Regions from separate parts of the Homo sapiens genome. Here region 2 is linked to region 1. The links are contacts of gene promoters, found by promoter capture Hi-C in blood cells and fetal thymus (Javierre and others, 2016). All regions are on one chromosome and are shown on one strand. The core of a region is centred on a gene start or on the middle of the fragment in contact, and the rest is flanking DNA. Distances in the headings are between cores, read along the strand shown. Region 1 holds the start of NT5DC1 (5'-nucleotidase domain containing 1). Region 2 holds the start of HDAC2 (histone deacetylase 2).

The links. The method cuts DNA at HindIII sites, captures the fragments that hold promoters and counts their contacts. A CHiCAGO score of 5 or more calls a contact.
Region 2: a contact is called between a fragment that was not itself captured here and the fragment with the promoter of NT5DC1 in region 1, in 4 of 17 cell types (total CD4 T cells, total CD8 T cells, non-activated CD4 T cells and 1 more). The highest score is 9.3, in total CD4 T cells.

The regions. Positions count from the first base shown.
Region 1 is chr6:116,097,379-116,103,124 of GRCh38, forward strand. NT5DC1 (5'-nucleotidase domain containing 1) reads left to right here and starts at 3,475. Exons shown (of 12, transcript NM_152729.3): 1 at 3,475-3,645. The coding sequence starts at 3,553. It also overlaps a transcript of FRK not described here. RefSeq lists enhancers at 3,135-3,657, 3,658-4,178, 5,648-5,717 and a silencer at 3,291-3,550. The HindIII fragment of the contact is 3,203 bases long and covers 2,092-5,294 here.
Region 2 is chr6:113,965,471-113,971,216 of GRCh38, forward strand. HDAC2 (histone deacetylase 2) reads right to left here and starts at 5,678. Exons shown (of 14, transcript NM_001527.4): 1 at 5,387-5,678. The coding sequence starts at 5,438. HDAC2-AS2 (HDAC2 and HS3ST5 antisense RNA 2) reads left to right here and starts at 4,231. Exons shown (of 10, transcript NR_125845.1): 1 at 4,231-4,808. RefSeq lists silencers at 4,819-5,138, 5,349-5,648, 5,590-5,746 and an enhancer at 5,195-5,746. The HindIII fragment of the contact is 2,076 bases long and covers 1,212-3,287 here.

The DNA.
Region 1 (5,746 bases), core at 2,225-4,724:
AAGTTGAACATACAATGTTTAATTAGGAATATTTAGAAAAGCATATTTTAAACTAATGAAAAAAGAAACAGGCCATTTCCCTCCTTCCCAAAAATGTATGGCAAATCATATTTACAATATAGATGTTAAAATAAAGTATTATAAATTCACAAAAGATCAGTTATTGAGATATTATAGAGTCTAAAGCTTAAGCTAGCTAATCACAAGTCACACCTAAGGTTAAAATTGCTAAATTATAGTACCACCTCAATTAAAAGCAGATCAATTGTAATAATGAAATTTAATTCTAGAAAATCGGCTGTAATATAACTTCCTGTTTCTGAATATTTCTAAATTATTACATAACTCATAAGTATAAGAAAAAACAGTACATGAAATACTAAAAACAAAAAAACTCTAAAACTTCACAGCATGGTATTAATGTTACACATAAGCAAAAGTACCCAACTTCAAGAAGTCAACAAATAACATAAACCCAAGTTCATGTCCTTTACAGACCTTTCAAATGGCAAATATTTCCTACATTTAACACAACACTGATTTGAGTCAATTATCCTTATTAACTGCCTTAGTTGGCTCAGCGTGCCTTAACAGAATACCACACAATGGGGTTTAGACAACAAAAAATTATTTTCTCACAGTTCTGGAGGCTCAAAGTCCAAGATCAAGGCGCTGTCAGGGTTGGTTTCTGGTGAAGCCACTCTCCTTGGCTTACAGACAGCTTTTTTTTTTTTTTTTTTTTTTTTTTTAAAAGACAGGGTCTCTCTCTGTCACCCAGGCTGGAGTGCGATGGCCTGATTCCAGCCCACTGCAACCTCTGCCTCCCAGGTTCAAGCGATCCTCCCACCCCAGCCCCTACAACAGCTAGGACTATAGGTGCCTGCCACCATACCCTGCTAATTTTTGTATTTTTTCTAGAGATGGGTCTCGCTATGTTGCCCAAGCTGGTCTTGAACTCCTTACCTCAAGCGATCTGCCTACTTTGGCCTCCCAAAGTGCTGGGATTACAGGTGTGTGCCACGACGCCAGGCAGACAGCCGTGGTTTTGTGGCTCCTCACATGGCCTTTCTTGTGTGCTTGAAAACTCTGGTGCCCCTTCCTCTTCTTACAAGAATGCTAATCCTGTTGGATTAGGGCTCCACCCTTATGGCCTTATTTAACATTAATTACTTCCTTAAAGGCCCTATGTCAAATATAAACACATTGTGGGTTAGGTCTTCAACACATGAATGAGTGGGGGACAAAATTCAGTCCATGATACTCAAAGAAACAGAAATTAATTGGTATCTAAGTAGAAGACTGAACTTGTAGTTGATAATACAAGAGCTGTGGCATTTTATCAGTAAGTGTGATAAAAGTTTAATGTGCAGGGAAAATGAAATATCTTTATCCAAAAATAAGCCTTATGAAACAATTAAACTGAGTGTTTGTATTTAAACTCAGGGTTATGTAGGGAATGGGAGAAGAGAAGGGAACCATCCCCTATATTTCTGGAAGAGTCAGACTGAGGTTTGAGGTACAAAGGAAAGGTGAGTGGGGCTCAAGAAAGAGTACAAGCCTCTAGGATTGGATCATTTGCAAAATTCTCCCACAAAGTTTAAATGATGTGGACTCTCTAGCACAAGAACTGTTTGTGCAAACATGCAGAATATATATAATTTGTTAATCAGCAAGTACATAAGATTGTTGATGTGCATGTAATAGCCAGATCCAGTCCCAGGACCACTTGGTTATCGACCCAGGGGTCTTTTTCTCTTTAAGAGTGCCCTGGTTCCCTCTCTCCCCTTACCCCAAGTCAATTTCCTGTTCACAATTCAGCACACTCAAGAGGTTTTGTAAGGAGAAGTTTTTGCTAAGTCAACAAAAAACAATCCTTTTATACTCTTCCCTCTTACAATGAATGTACTAGTACATTTGTATTACTAAGGGAAGTCCCTAAAGTACCTAAAGCACCTACTCCCACATGAAACAAGATATTCCCCAAGGAAACATGTGCCCTTCAATGTGGCATGCACCTGGAAGTTTGACTTTGGTAGCATTCTATTGCAAGGTGCAGAGGAGAATGCCAAGGTCAATGCTCCAGGGCCAACAAGCTTTTTCCAGCCTCTCCAACAATCCAGCCTTTTCTCTTTTGGTTCACAGACATTGAAAACATGATTGTTGGACTCATCAGTGAACAGCTTAATCTTCTTGAAGATTCTTTACTTTTCCTATTCCAGAGAGATTTGTTTGGGGCTTTTAAGTGTTATAATGGAACAAGTTATCAATTTTATTCAAATGGGTCTACTAGGTATAAGTGTCCTCCTACTCAATTGTACTATCTATTGCACTAAATTAATCCTCTGATTGGTCTATTAGCCTCAGAAGGATTAGTATTTGAAAGGGTTAAATGCAGTTCTCAATCAATTATATTTTCATTATGTCACGACTATTGATTTGTCCCATTAGACACATTGTTCCTTTAAATTGAGAACTGAAGCAGTGTAAACATAATAGATTTGTATTTTCTTTTTAAAATGAGGTACTATGTAATAAAGATCTCAAAGTGCTAGTCCTTCACATCCGGAAATCAGGAAGAGAATTAAATGCCCTAAGGCATACATTGTATGTAATGGATTAACTTTCTCTGCATCTAAAATGGTAGTAGTTATACAGTTCTTGAGAGAATTAAGCAAATGTCACTCAAAACATTTTGTGCTCTATAAACCTTAAACCCGGTTTGCAAAAGTTTTTTGTAGTATGCTCTATATATTTCTATGAAGTTTCTGATGCCCTTTCATAAAAAATTCATTACAATAACAAAATAGGATTATCAAGTAATAACCAATATTGGTTTCCATAACAAGTATCATCTTGCAAAATGGTTCTTCACGATGTCTGATACATTTATTTTCTAACGCACTCCAGGGTATGAAATAGTGAAAGGTCTGTCTTCCACTTAACCACTTAGGAAACCAAGGAATATAAAGTTTTTGGTTTAAACCACTATCAAAGATCACGTGGGTGAAAAGACCTTCCAAATTGTAGGCTAACTGGGTCAGAGGGATATTAGCGGATGAATTTTTTCTATGATCTTACTATTCCTCACACAGGGGTAAAAGGTCAGGTCTAACCTCATGATCTCCTGGTTTCCGAGGCGCCCTGAGGCGATGGAGTGTCCCGGTTAATTTTGTGGTAGCCCTCGGGAAAGGCTACGTGCCTACAGGTCTCAGCTGTGCAGCAGCGGCACCGCTCCTGGACCCCTACTGCCTTCTGGGCTCCTAGGCTTGCGGAACAGATCAGGAGTCGCCGGCATTGGGGTACCAGGAGGACGCGAGCTGACTACCTGACTCCGGGCGGCGCAGGACGCCCGCCGCGCGAGGGGCGGGGGCTAAGCGTATCGAGGGGCGGTGCTCGAGGGCGCGGGAGGCGGGAGAGGCTGCCGCGCCGTGTGCCCTGGCAGCCGCAGCCCCGCCCCGCCGCGTCCGGCCCGGTCCTGTCCCGCAGCGTCCCGCCAGCCAGCTCCTTGCACCCTTCGCGGCCGAGGCGCTCCCTGGTGCTCCCCGCGCAGCCATGGCTCAGCACTTCTCCCTGGCCGCCTGCGACGTGGTCGGATTCGACCTGGACCACACTCTGTGTCGCTACAACCTGCCCGAGAGCGCCCCGGTGAGTGGCGCGGGCTCCGGGGCGCACTGCGCGCAACCTCCATGGCGGCTGGGGCTTGAGTTTCCTCCAGGTTTGGGCAACGGCGGACGCTGCCCGGGGCCTGCGGCGGCCGAGTCTTGCCGCAGAGCGCGGCCTCCAGCGGCGAGAAGGGGCGGAAGTGTGCAGCCTCCGCTCCGCGCCGGTGCCGTGGGGACCGGCACATTTACCTCAGCCATTAGCTAATGTTGAGAGGGATAGGGAAGAACGAAGGAGGGGCAAACTGCGCAAGACCGGGCTGGGGAATCGGTGATTTCTAGGGCCGAGGAGGGGCGGGGTCAGGGGGACTAGGGCTGTCCTTGAAGATCTCACGTCGTGGAACTTTCTCTGCATGTCTTTCTGGACACCAGCTGATTGTGGACACAGCCACTTGATTTGGTACTTGCATTTTTTTTGGCTGCATTTTTCTGTTTGCACGATCAACCACCCATCAGTGTTTAAACTGCAATCTGGGAGAGATGCGTAGTATATAGTGTAGTGTATTGAAAGGAACACTAGTTGAAAAGTCATTAAGATCTTAGCCCTAGTTTTACCTTCTATCAAGAGAAGAAAATACATATTTATTGCGCATCGACTACGTGCTCCGTGCACTTTGAATACATTCCAGTCCTACCAACAGTCTGCGAAGTTTGGGTCCTCACTGTGCCCTGAGGGAGGGGGACATGGAGTATGCATGCTTCCAGACCTGTACACTCAAATTAATTGCCCTCCCTCCACTATTCCTTTGGTTTCCCAATTCCCAAGGAAACTAATTTTGAAAAGTTACCAGATTTTTTTAGTCCAAGATCTAAGCATCCAGACAGAAAAAGAGCTGGTTATGAGTACAGTGGTGAAAGCGAGGACTCCTCAGCCAGACTGCCTAGCTTAGGACACCAGCTCCACTGTTACTAGCTCTGTGACTTCGAGGAAGTTACTTAACCTGTGCTGCTTCTCAGTTTCCCCATCTGTAAAATGGAGCTAATAATTGGATTTACCTCACAAGATTGTTGCAAGGATTAAATGAGTAAGAGATGTATAATGCTTAGAATAGTACCTTGGCAAAGACAAGTGTTTGCTTTTATGGTTACCACCCAAACTATTTGGAAACCTCACAGTTTATGGGTAGAACTCTAGATCACTGGTGCAGACATCAGCCAGGGTTGTGCCCCATTATGGGCACCCGCCAGTTCCTGCACCCACCAGTTCAGGTACACGTTAAAGGTCAAAAAAGAGTGGCTGCCCGAATTTCTCGTGTGTTTTCTATGCCCAGATGCTAAATTTTTTTTTAAATGTCCTTTTTCTGCTGTTACACTTTCCTGCTTTCTTACCTTACAGGTCTGGTTTCCTTAGTCACATTGAGAATTAAGAAGGCTTTTTTACTGCTTGATTCTTTGGCCACTGCTTCCCCTAGGTCTTTGATACATGTTTTCCTTCCCTCTGTGTCTTTCGAATCCTTCCTGGTTCACAGTTTTGTGTGTCTCCTCTTTAGTTACCTTCATTTGGAGGTAATATTGTTAAACCACTGTCATGTTAGAGCTAGTGTTGTCCATAGGTGATCATAAAATTTCAGAATATAAGATTCTCAAAGACAAGAGGTTTTTTTACTGCAAACCTGGAGAATAAGTGATGTTTAAAGCTTGAAAACAGTAACCTATTGAGTTTTGGATCATGTTTGGTGTGGAAATCTTTTTTATTTTAAGTCCCACAGTGTGCTGAGCACCATGCTAGAGCTGAGGATACAGAGATCAACACGCAGGCCTCCAGGCAGCCTTACACAGTAGGCAAAAATGCTGAAGAGTTAGTCTTGGTCCCTTGTGGTGGGTAGTATGACCTGGGTCTTGCTTCACGCTGCCAACAGTGCCTGGAGGGCCTCTTTGCTCTGCACAGAAGCTCTTCATCCCATCAGGCCTCATCTTAAACATCGTTCCCCTTAGGAAGTCTTTTTGGCCCTTAAAGTTTGCCCTTCCATTCTAAGCCCACCTTCAGTTTTCCACAAAACCCTTCATTCCTCATAGCACATGCTGCATGATATTAACACTTCCTGTTTACTTGTTGGACTTCCCCTAGAGCCCAGCGTGATGACTCC
Region 2 (5,746 bases), core at 1,000-3,499, 2.1 Mb before region 1:
CGATTCTCCTGCCTCAGCCTCCCAAGTAGCTGGGATTACAGGCACCCGTCACCATGCCCAGCTAACTTTTTTTTGTATTTTTAGTAGAGAGAGGGTTTCGCCATGTTGGCCAGGCTGGTCTCAAACTCCTGACCTTGTGATCTGCCCGCCTCGGCTTCCCAAAGTGCTGGGATTATAGGCGTGAGCCACTGCACCCGGCCCCCTCTCTTACTTTATACCTGCAGTCTTTTATTTCCTTCTTAGGACTTGAGCAATCTTTTGTCTATTTGGCACACAGTAGGAACTTTAAGCCTATTTGATATGTCTGAACCCAAAGCTGGCTTAATGAACAAGTAACAATAAGCAGACTGCTACTGAAATACAGAGGAATAAGGCTTAATAACCAGTACAAAAAAATCCTTAGACTTGATTTGAATTCTTCCAAGTTTGAATTTATTAACATTCCCTAAGAGATGCCTTCTCCAATCCCAAGTGTTTTCCTTTAAGGACTTGTCAACAGAAGCATTTAAAGTTTTTGTTAAGGAGTTTTGTTTGTTTGGTAGCAGAGGAAACACTTTGAAAAGGAAAAAAGAAAAATAAAGATTCCGGATGTTGAACTCTCCTTGAACATTAAAACTACAGTCAGTGTGGAAAAGGAAAAGTGGTAGACTGCACCAAACAAATGTGAATCTGTTTTCATCTAAACAATACCAAAAATGCCAAAATGCCACCCATCCTACCTAAATGTAGTTCAGAGTAGTTTCAAGAATTAGAGGGAACGTTATATGAAAGCGTTCTATCTATAAGAATAAGGAATTGGCCAGGCACAGTGGCTCACGCCTGTAATCCCAGCACTTAGGGAGGCTGAGGTGGGTGGATCACCCCAGGTCAGGAGTTCGAGACCAGCCTGGCCAACATGGTAAAACCCCCATCTCTACTAAAAAATACAAAAATTAGCCAGGGGTGGTGGCACGTGCCTGTAATCTCAACTACTTGGGAGGCTGAGGCAAGAGAATCACTTGAACCCGGGAGGGTAGTGGAGGTTGCAGTGAGCTGGGATCACGCCACTGCACTCCAGCCTGGGCAATAAGAGCAAAATTCCATCTCAAAAAAAAAAAAAAAGTATAAGGAATTAATAATTTATTCATCACTAATTAAAAAAAAAAGCTACGTTTTTAAATGTAGTTGGCGAAGATACAAACACAAGCAAAACAGACAGACTGTCCTAATGAAGCTTATGTTATAGTGAGGAGAGAGACAAAAGTTATATGGTACAACCAAAAGGAAGAAAAATAAGGCAATAACAGGGACTTAGGTAATAGGAGAAAGCATCTCTGATGAGGTAAAATTTGAAAGAAAAGAGAGGCAAAAGATTTCTGGGGAAAGAGAAGTATAGGAAAATTTCAGTCTTATTTAGTCATGTTTTATTGTGCAATTAGTATTACTGGTATTTATGAACTGCTGCTATAATTAATTTAGCACTTATTTGCCTCCAAAGAAATTATTACCTATTTCACGGATAATAAAGATTTATACCACAGCTAAGAACCCATGTAGTTGTATTAAAGGTTATTCAGCAAAAGACTTTGGTACTACTCATAAATACAAGTCTAAGAAAATCTGACAATCGTTGGCTGCCAAGTAGAATTTCTATAATTTGCTGAAGAAGGAGTACGTTGGGAGGTATCATCTTGGTAACTTTTTTTTTTGAGACGGAGTTTCGCTCTTGTTGCCCATGGCACTATCTTGGCTCACTGCAACCTGCACCTCCTGGGTTCAAGCCATTCTCCTGCCTCAGCCTCCCGAGTAACTGGGACTACTGGTGCCTGCCACCACGCCTGGCTAATTTTTGTATTTTTAGTAGAGACGGGGTTTCGCCATGTTGGCCAGGCTCTTCTCAAACTCCCGACCTCAGGTGATTTGCCTGCCTCAGTCTCCCAAAGTGCTGAGATTATAGGCATGAGCCACCACACCTGGCCTAATCTTGATAACTTTTGTATTTATATAGTTTTATCTGTATACAGTCTTTGAGTGTTTTTTTCTGGACCACTTGTCTCCAAAACTGATTATGCATCCCTCTCAGAGGAGGAAAAAATAGAGCACAGAGAAATTTGTGTATAGTTACATAAATTAGGTATATAAACCCTATTATACTGTATACACCATAAAAACAAGCACTAAATATGTTTGGCCTCAAGATTAATTCAAAACAAAGCATAAACATGTCTAGATACAGTATTAAAAATGTGAGTGGTATAACTAGAGCCTAACACAGCTTAGCTGCTAATTATATTTAAGTAGAGAAAAATCACATCGTTTTAAGGCCCAGAAGGGATCTTAGTGACTATCTAATTAGCTGTATCATTTTACAGATTCTTGATGATCTTCTAGTGTATAAAGAAGGAACATGATTCAGAAGTATGTTTTTGGGAATTTGGAGGCATGGATCAATAGCTACAGTCAGAGAAGTAATAACTTCTCTTACTTTTCTTCAAAGGTTTAAGGATACCTAATCCATCAATGTCTGAAGGTTCCCTTGGGACCAACGTTTCAGTGACCTAAAGGGTTACCTGAAGATTACATAACGTGCAGAGAACAATATGTATATATTTAAAAGTTCTTTCATTAAGATGCAAACAGCCTCAGTGGCAGACATTCTGTGTGGCCAAGAGGCTCCGTGTGCCTAACAGCCCCAGGAAGCCTAAAGGTAGGATTCCTATGGTTATAGAATTTGCTACTTCCGTCCTTTTCTTTTTCACTCACTTTCTTCCTTCTACTTCCTTTACCAAGAAGTTAAAACCATCTAACCTAGGCTAGCAGATAATTCAGACCCTATTACTACAGATATAACCCATTCCCAATCCAATCCATGTTATATACCTTAAAGTCACGATTCTTTGATACAGAAGCTCCTTTCCTTGCATTCTCTTCTCACAATAAAAAAAGAATTAGTATTGCTACTTTTGTAAGCTGACAAAACAATGTTCTCTGGTAATAAAAATATAAGTTTTTGGATGAGGTCAGCACACTATCACATATTAATAATTAGCATAATATAAACATTAATAATCTCTGCAAAATATTTTAATTCCCTCCCACAAAAATTAAAAGAGTATGTGAAACATAAGCAACTAGGAACTCCACTTTAACAAACGAGTCACAGACAAAAGACAAAATAACCCACCAGAGATTTCCAAACTATCAGCTATTCACTTGTTGCTGGCCATCACGTAAGCAGGTGAATGGGCTACAATAAAGTATCATATTAAGTCACAATCACAAGACAAATATTTCCACCCTACTTATCAAGCTTGCATCCTTTCCCGGGTACCCGTGCCTGCTCCCATTCCCACAACGAAGGTTATCATAAATGGGCCCAGGACAAGAGCGCTGTTCAGAAACTGCTACTCAAGTGTACCCTCCTGGTTCTAGGGTTCCATTGTGGTGACAACAAATTACAAGCAGCTTACTTCCTCAGAGCCCATCACTACCAACACCAACTGACAGCTTCGAGAAGGACCTCAGTACCACTTTCCCTAACCAAAATTTTCCTCTTTACTCCAAGCCCTGACAAGGATAAATCTCTAAACTTTAGAAACAATGTAATTTTACAAATTAACTTATACGCAGGGTTACTTCCTTTCCAATTTGATCAGGGAATGCAGGGCAAGAATAACCCAAAATATGCAATGTAAATCATGTTGAAATTAAAATGTATTTCCATCTCCACCCCTCCACGATGGCATAATTTCAAATCAACTTATATAATGCATATCTAGTCCTCTGAAAAATCATTTTTAAAAGTAGGGCTGTTATTATTCTGTCCTAGCTATCGCAGATCAATTTAGATTTGTTCTGTAAGATTTCAGATTTTCCCCAAATGACACAGGTGGTTATTTTATATGTATCAGTCATTAAAAGATTAATCCTTTTTAACTAAAAAGAGACAGTACGGTCATTTACAAGTTAAAGTAGATTTATTCTGAGCTGGTGCTCTGGGGTCTTACTTCTCTAAAATTTTGTGATTTACAATACACCACATGTAGGAAACAGCTTCCAAAATTTGTATTGCTTCCTACAAATCAGACAGGACTTTCAGGAGAAGGAGCCTAGGATAGATTCTCTGTTAAATTTTGGAATCCCTTCTCTCAAGAGTAACCTACTATAAACTATTTACCAAGCCTTTGTGAAATCTGTATAACAGGTTACTACTCCATTGAGCAAGAAAACACAGGAAACAGGATTCGAAGATTTAATGTTACTGCTCATACTCCAAATTATAGAATGCTTAAGATAATTAAATTATCTGACTTTTATAATTCACTACACGGTGACCTCAAATTTACCTCATTAGAATATTTAGTACTTCTGCACTTCTCCCACTTCTCAAAGTTTTCCCATACCAGGATTCCCCACCACCTAGGAACAGCCTTTGCAAGATACCAATGCTCTCTAAATCCCCAAAGCAGGGTCTATTTCCTGATCGAACAAAGAGCAACAAAGAAGTGGGTGGTAACCACCTCTCTGAGGCAAGCCAGGACCCATGGAGTCTGATCTACAACACAAGCAGTAGCAGTTCCACATCTCCCTACCACCTCTTATTTCCTACGAAGTCTTTCTGCCTGAAACTGGAAAACCCGAACTATTATTGAGGAAGTGAAGCCCTTCCATTTGAATCCTGAGAAAGACGCGCTCAAAGAACCCAGCGAACAAAGGAGAGGGTTGGAGCCCACGCAAAACATGGGTGTGATAAAGCCACACGCGACCTGAGCCCCCACCCTCAGTAACTACTCTCCAGCGCCCACCGGGAGGAGGGGTCCGGGGAAAGGGTAAGCCGAGGAAGGAGAAGACGCTCCGGCCAGACCGAACGCAGGGTAGGGGAGGCGAGCAGGCGAGGAGGAGGGAAGGGGACGGGAGGGGCGGAGCTCTCGCGGCCGCGGGGCTTTGTGTAGAGTCAAGGCCGGGATAGAAATTTTGCCTCGCGGGGGACGGGTCGAGGGGGTAGGAGGCCGACGCGGGGCACCCCAAACCTGCGTTGCCACGAATGGTGGGCGGGAGAAGGGAGAGAATGGGCCGCCCCCTTCGCCGCCGCCACCACCAAGGCGGGGTAGGCCGGCGCCGTCCCCAGCGGCGGCCACCTTCGAGGCTGCGGACTGCACGGCCGAAGGGGGAGAGGCAGGAGACAAGACGGGCGGGCCCCCTGATTCCCGCCCGCAGGAACCGCGGGGGCTGCGCCAGGAAGAGGGTCTCGTTCTAACTGTGCCGGGCCGGGAACGGGTTAAGATGCGGCCAAATGTCGGTCCCTCCTCCTTCCCACCCCTCAGCCCCGGCGCCCACTCGCGACGGCAGCCGCGGAACCCAGCGCCCGGCCCCGCGCGCCCACCCCGACACCGGCCCGGCCGCTCACCGTCGTAGTAGTAGCAGACTTTTTTTTTGCCGCCTCCTTGACTGTACGCCATGGGCTCCCCGGCCACCGCCGCCACCGGGCTCCTCCTCCTGCTGCTGCTGCTGCTGCTGCTGCCGCCGCGGCTCGGCCGGGAGAGAAAAGGGCTGAGGGAAACGTGGGGGCGATAGTCCCGCGGGGAAGGGCAGGCCGGTGGGAGGAGAGGAGGGGGCGCCGGGAAGGCTCGGTACCACCCGGCAGAGGTGCCGAAAGCTCGGAATCGGAGGTGGCAGCGGCACCAACTCGCGAGGAGGGGGCCACCAAACCACCTCAGGAGGCCGCAGGGAGGTGAGCGCATCCACTGCGGCCTCCACGGGGGAGGAA